Regions from separate parts of the Homo sapiens genome. Here region 1 is linked to region 2. The links are contacts of gene promoters, found by promoter capture Hi-C in blood cells and fetal thymus (Javierre and others, 2016). All regions are on one chromosome and are shown on one strand. The core of a region is centred on a gene start or on the middle of the fragment in contact, and the rest is flanking DNA. Distances in the headings are between cores, read along the strand shown. Region 1 overlaps PTPN9 (protein tyrosine phosphatase non-receptor type 9). Region 2 holds the start of SNUPN (snurportin 1).

The links. Contacts are between HindIII fragments. The CHiCAGO score rates a contact against its expected background, and 5 or more counts as called.
Region 1: a contact is called between a fragment that was not itself captured here and the fragment with the promoter of SNUPN in region 2, in 8 of 17 cell types (naive CD4 T cells, activated CD4 T cells, total CD4 T cells and 5 more). The highest score is 12.0, in naive CD4 T cells.

Annotation. Positions count from the first base shown.
Region 1 is chr15:75,505,771-75,508,914 of GRCh38, forward strand. PTPN9 (protein tyrosine phosphatase non-receptor type 9) reads right to left here. Exons shown (of 13, transcript NM_002833.4): 7 at 1-233. Among named protein-coding and RNA genes, the nearest start is that of SIN3A, 56 kb to the left of the region's middle. The HindIII fragment of the contact is 2,620 bases long and covers 515-3,134 here.
Region 2 is chr15:75,624,233-75,627,371 of GRCh38, forward strand. It overlaps SNUPN (snurportin 1), which reads right to left and starts at 1,493. Exons shown (of 9, transcript NM_005701.4): 1 at 1,434-1,493. RefSeq lists a silencer at 972-1,021 and an enhancer at 1,672-1,861. The HindIII fragment of the contact is 10,585 bases long and covers 1-3,139 here.

The sequences.
Region 1 (3,144 bases), core at 575-3,074, 120 kb before region 2:
AACTCTTGGATGGTCATAGCATGGGGACCTGGAACATGTACTGAGTCCCAGTCTAAGGCAGGAGGGAGGGAGAACAGGATGATCTCATCGAAGGGATCTGGGTGGCCGTTCACCTGGGGTAGGAACTGGAAATTCCAAGTGGCGAGATCAATTTTGACGTACCCACCCAGGTTTTCTGGAAGACACTCCCTGGGCAGATGCTGCGTGACCTCAGATGTCTTTAATATTTGAATCTGGAAGGTTAGAAAGAACCATGTGAGTATGTGGGAGGAGGGAAAGGCATATAGAGTGACAAAGAATAAATGTATTTATATCAGGTTTGGAGGATGGGATAAGATTTTCTTGAAATACAAGGTATACTTGTAAAAGTAGTAGACTACATTTCATCTGCCTGAGATTTAAGTCCTATGAATTTGCCAGATAAAAGTGTGAACTCCCAGAATGTATATAAAATTCACTCCTGGAATTAGGGACACTGTTATACATCTTCTGAAAGGACGATGTAGTGAACAAAAGCTTTATATTATTAACAAGGCTTCCCAGCATCGCTGCATGCTGGTACTCTTTTTTTGGCCACTAAGAATGCATAGGTAGTAGTTATTTTTGTCAACCCCATACTCAGACAACCAATTCTAAGGCCTGTTAGCTTGTATTTTACTCAGCTTGGTATAACTGTTCACAAAGATAGGATTCTATGAAAGCAAGACACCCAGAGGCAGGGTAGCCCAGGAAAAATGTGAGATAACACTTTTTTTTTGAGACAGGGTCTCACTTTTTCACCCAGCCTGGAGTGTAGTGGCGTGATGAAGGCTCACTGCAGCCTCAACCTCCTGGGCTCAAGTGATCCTTCCACCTCAGCCCCTCAAGTAGCTGGGAATACAGATGCACACAACCACGCCCAGCTAATTTTTTGTAGTAACCATAAAACTTAATTCTGCTCTCTGCTTGGACATAGCCATGCTGGAACTAATTAGCTTAACTGGTTCTCCTTAGGATCTCTGTGGAATGGGGATTCTCTTCCTCCTAAAAGCTCATCTCTTTTGCTGTCGCCTCTTCTTGGAATGCCTTCCTTTCCTCCTCTGCCTCTTCATGGACCAGCACAGCTCACCTCTTCTGTGAAGTCTTTCCTGACTGCCTGAGGCCATATGCTCCTCTGCGTTCCTGCAGAGCCAAAGTCCTCCTATGTGTATCTCTGTGTTCCCTATCAAGACCATGAGCTCCTTGAGGGTAGACTGTCTCACTTAATTTTTAATTATCAGGAACCAGTGCTTCGACTACAAAAAGTGCTTAATATATTTTGAGTTTATACATGCATGTATAATTCCTATAATTCAAGTGCAAGAACTTGCCTATGGATTCCTCTCAAAGAGTTACCTTAGAAAAGATCTCTCCAGCTGGCACGGTGGCTCATGCCTATAATCCCAGCACTTTGGGAGGCTGAGGCAGGTGGATCACCTGAGGTCAGGAGTTTGAGACCAGCCTGTCCAACATGGTGAAACCCCATCTCTACTAAAAAAATACAAGAATTAGCTGGGCATGTTGGCAGGAGCCTGTAATCCCAGCTACTTGGGAGGCTGAGGCAGGAGAATCACTTGAACCCGGGGGACGGAGGTTGCAGTGAGCCAAGATCATGCCATTGCACTCTAGCCTCAGCGACAACAGCAAAACTCTGTCGCAAAAAAAAAAAAAAAAAAAGAAAGAAAAGATCTCTCCTGGCTGGGCACGGTGGCTTATGCCTGTAATCCCAGCACTTTTGGGAGGCTGAGGTGGGTGGATCACGAGGTCAGAAGATCAAGACCATCCTGGCTAACACAGTGAAACTCCGTCTCTACTAAAAACACAAAAAATTAGCCGGGCGTGACAGCACACGCCTGTAGTCCCAGCTACTAGGGAGGCTGAGGCAGGAGAATGGTTTGAACCTGGGAGGCGGAGCTTGCAGTGAGCCGAGATCGCTTCACTGCACTCCAGCCTGGGAGACAGAGCGAGACTCCGTCTCAAAAAAGGTGGCTCACGCTTGTAATCCCAGCACTTTGGGAGGCTGAGGTGGGCGGATCATGAGGTCAGGAGTTCGAGACCAGCCTGGCCAATATGGTGAAACACCGTCTCTACTAAAAATACAAAAATTAGCTGGGTGTGGTAGCGTGCGCCTGTACTCCCAGCTACTCAGGAGGCTGAGGCAGAAGAATCGCTTGAACTCAGGAGGCGGGGCTGCAGTGAGCCAAGATCGTGCCACTGCACTCCAGCCTAGGCAACAGAGTGAGACACTCTCAAAAAAAAAAAAAAAAAAAAAAAAAGAAAAGCTCTCTCCTACTCTGCGTCATTAGGTCTCTAAGCAGCTTCCACAGAACCAAATGTTTTCACTTTCATGTCCTGTCTTTTAATTGCTGCAATCAGTAACTGAGACCATAAATCTTTTAATCATGGAACACGCAGGAGATTATAACAGAATTAAAGTTTCTGGTTTTATTGTGGCGGCGGGGTCTCACTGTGTTGCCTAGGCTGGTCTCAAACTCCTGGCCTCAAGCGATCTTCCCGCCTTGGCCTCGGACTCCCAAAGTGTTAGTATTATAAGCATGAGCCATTACACTTGGCCCAGAATTAAAGTAATTTTGAACGCTTTTGAAATTGGGAAGCAACAAGGTATTCTGAGAAAAAAAAATGCCAGGAATAAATGTAGAAAGAGACATAACGAAAAACTTTCCTCCACAACCCTGGTGGTCAAGGGATTGAATGATGTTTCCAGTTGAACAAATTCTAATGCCAGTTCAACTAATGCAGTTATATTACAAGCTGTTAAATATTAAAGGCCTATGCAGCACTAGGATAAATTTTGGAAGTAGCAGCTATCCCTAAGTTACCTCCAGGACACGTTCCTTCAGTACTATCTTATGCAAGGTGCTATAGAAAGTGAGAACCAGATAAACTGTGTTTAGTTTTGAACTTCAAGAAGCTCGTAGGACAGTAAGAGAGGCAGTCTGTATTGAACTGACTAATGCATCAGGTAGAGAATATAAGTGAATGCACTAACAGAAGCAGAACAGGCTCTAGAAGACACGCCAGGAGGATTTTTTGAAGGTAGAAAATTAATTGGCAGGAATTCACTGTATCTATTCACCTCCAGATAAAAAAGGGCAAGCTTGCCTT
Region 2 (3,139 bases), core at 243-2,742:
AATTTTTAAAAAGTCATTATGTTTTCAGTTCATCACCAAAGTAATGACCAAATCCAAAGCACCTTTATTAGGCCTATCATGCACTATCTTGGTGTGGGCTCCCGCTCTGCCAAGAACCACACAACCTTTGAAACTGATGTCCTGGGCCTGGCGCGGTGGCTCACGCCTGTAATCCCAGCACTTTGGGAGGTTGAAGCGGGCAGATCACCTGAGGTTAGGAGATCGAGACCATCCTGGCTAACACAGTGAAACCCCGTCTCTACTAAAAAAAAAAAAAAAAATACAAAAAAATTAGCCAGGCATGGTGACGGGCGCCTGTAGTCCCAGATGCTCGGGAGGCTGAGGCAGGAGAATGGCTTGAACCCGTAAGGCGGAGCTTGCAGTGAGTCGAGATCGTGCCACTGCACTCCAGCCTGGACTTCGTCTCAAAAAGAAAAAAAAAAGAAAAACTGATGTCCTGGATACTGGGGCGGTTCCTTTACCTTCCTTCAAGGCTGTTCTTGGCGGGTTCCTGCTGTTTCGTTTTGTTTTTTCTTTGTTGTTGTTGTTTTTTTTTTGAGACAGAGTTTCGCTCTTGTTGCCCAGGCTGGAGTGCAGTGGCATGATCTCGGCTCACTGCAACCTCCATCTCCCGGATTCAAGCGATTCTCCTGCCTCAGCCTCCCGAGTAGCTGGGATTACAGGCACGCGCCACAACGCCCGGCTAATTTTTTTTGTATTTTTAGTACAGATGGGGTTTCACCATGTTGGTCAGGCTGGTCTCAAACTCCTGACCTCAGGTGATCCGCCCACCTCGGCCTCCCAAAGTGCTGGGATTACAGGCGTGAGCCACTGCGCCCCGCCGGGCTCCTGCTGTTTCAACCCATTCCTTGGATGGTGCTGCCTCCAAGTGTTCGGACCTTAGCCCCAGGTGGTCTTAGCACCAGTAACCCCCGCTCCAACTCCCTAAAGTCCGACCCGCCCCAGGCCCCGCCCACGCTCCACCCTCCCTCCCTGTCTAGCCCCCTCCCCCATCCCCTTCCCCCTCCTTCGCGTCTCCCCATCCGGCGCCCCCGCCTCGCGTCCCCTGGGTCCGCATCCTGGCAGCCTCCGCGTTTCCCTACCCCTGCTACCGGGCTCCAGCCCCGGGGACGCTATCTGCTTCACTCGGCCGTGCGCGCCGCCACCGCCCCGCACTGCCTTTTTCTAGGCATGGGGTCATCTAGGCCATGCATGATTCGCCCCTGCCCCACAGAAGTCCCTGAGGGGTCCTGGCCGGACAGCACGGAATAGAAGAACGGAAACTCTCCCAAAAGGAGTCCCAGGCCTGGCTCTATCCCTCCAGATGACGTCCCAGGAGGCCAGAGTGCAGGGCCGGCCAGAGGGAGTCACAGTCCGGCACCGAGAGGCAACTCGGCAGCTGGCGGGGCCCGGGCTCGAACCCAGGGACTCACCCAAACCGAGGTGACCGTCGCACGCGCCGCCGCCACCGGGGCCGACGAATCACCTGCCCTGGGAAGCTAGGTCCGCCCTCCCCCCGCCCCCAGCTGCTGCCTCACCGCTGGGCCCACAGGCCTCGCGCCCTGAGTTTCCGGCTCCTCCCTCCTTTGCGAACGCTGGGAGTTCCGTTGCCTACAGGCCGTTATTTCCGCCTTCAACGGCTGGGGCATTTCCCATCGGCTAGGGAGGGGGTCTTCTTGCATTTGCTTTGCACTGTCCGGGACTCTTCCTGCTAGATGACTTGACCAGGCCGAGGCCTCCCTCCTGAACACAAGCTCTTCGGGGCTCCTTTCGCCAATGGGAGGAGGCTGATCTTGTGGCCGGGCATTCAACGCCCTGGGCCCTGCCGCCTCCCGCAGATCTTCCCGGGCCTTAGGGCTTCACCTGGAGTCCCCTTCCCCTCTTGGGCCCGTGCTCTTAAACGGGCAGTGCCAATTGCCTGGATTACTCCAACTAACCCCTCACACCCAAGTTTCAGACACAGACCTTCGCTCCCCCACTTGCCCTTAACAAAAGCAGATACATACCTCGATTACTGCCTGTTTGCTGCTTTTGCGAGCTTCTTTCCCACTCGGCTGCGGGCTGAGCAATGGTAGGGACCTGGCTTGATTCCTATTTAAGTAGCCAGAGTCCAGCACAAGGGATGGCGCTCAGTAGACCCTGCGTGAAGGAATGATTAAATTGGTGCAAAAGACTAGGGTAAGCGGCAGAGATTTAGGAGATTAAGTCCTGCCAGGGTGTAGCCTCTGCAGGGCGGGAAGGCTGAGATTACAATTTTAAAACTGAATATTTATTGAATGCTTACATTCAGCCAATCCCTGCTTCACACCCATCATCTCATTTAATTTTTTTCCTTTTTTTTCTTTTTTAAGCCAGTAGATATTAACTCTTAATCATGACATGAGGAAGTAGACACACTGAAGCTCAGAGAGGTTAAGTAATTTGGCCAAAGTAACACAGCTTTCAAGGAAAATGTTTGAATTTGCTGAAAGTTTGATGTATAGGGAAGTTGACTACCGATGTATGACAGAAGCAAAGTATCCACCTTTGGCACATTTTGCGTCCACGGAATGCTAAAATTTGGACTTGTGTATTTTATGCACATTACACCATACATTCAGACTAAAAAGAATAGGAAATTAGGCTGATGAAAGGCTATTACTAGACTGGTAAAAAGGGTTCTGGGGCCCTGGAAGGCCAATTTTTCTGGACGTGAGATTTTTTTTTATTTTTTTGAGATGGAGTCTCGCTCTGTCGCCCAGGCTCTGGAGTGCAGTGGCGCAATCTCCGCTCACTGCAAGCTCCGCCTCCCGGGTTCACGCCATTCTCCTGCCTCAGCCTACTGAGTAGCTGGGACTACAGGCGCCTGCCACCATGCCCGGCTAATTTTTTTGTATTTTTAGTAGAGACGGGGTTTCACTGTGTTAGCCAGGATGGTCTCGATCTCCTGACCTCATGATCTGCCCGCCTCGGCCTCCCAAAGTGCTGGGATTAAAGGCGTGAGCCACCGCACCCGGCCTGGACCTGAGATTTTATTTAGGTGGCTCTTTCAGTGGCCAGGCTGAGCAAAGCTGTCCACTAGGGTATTTATTTGGTGCATCCACAAATAAAAGCTCATGTCTGCCTGATTTATGAGACTGACAAAAAAGAGAAGTCCAGG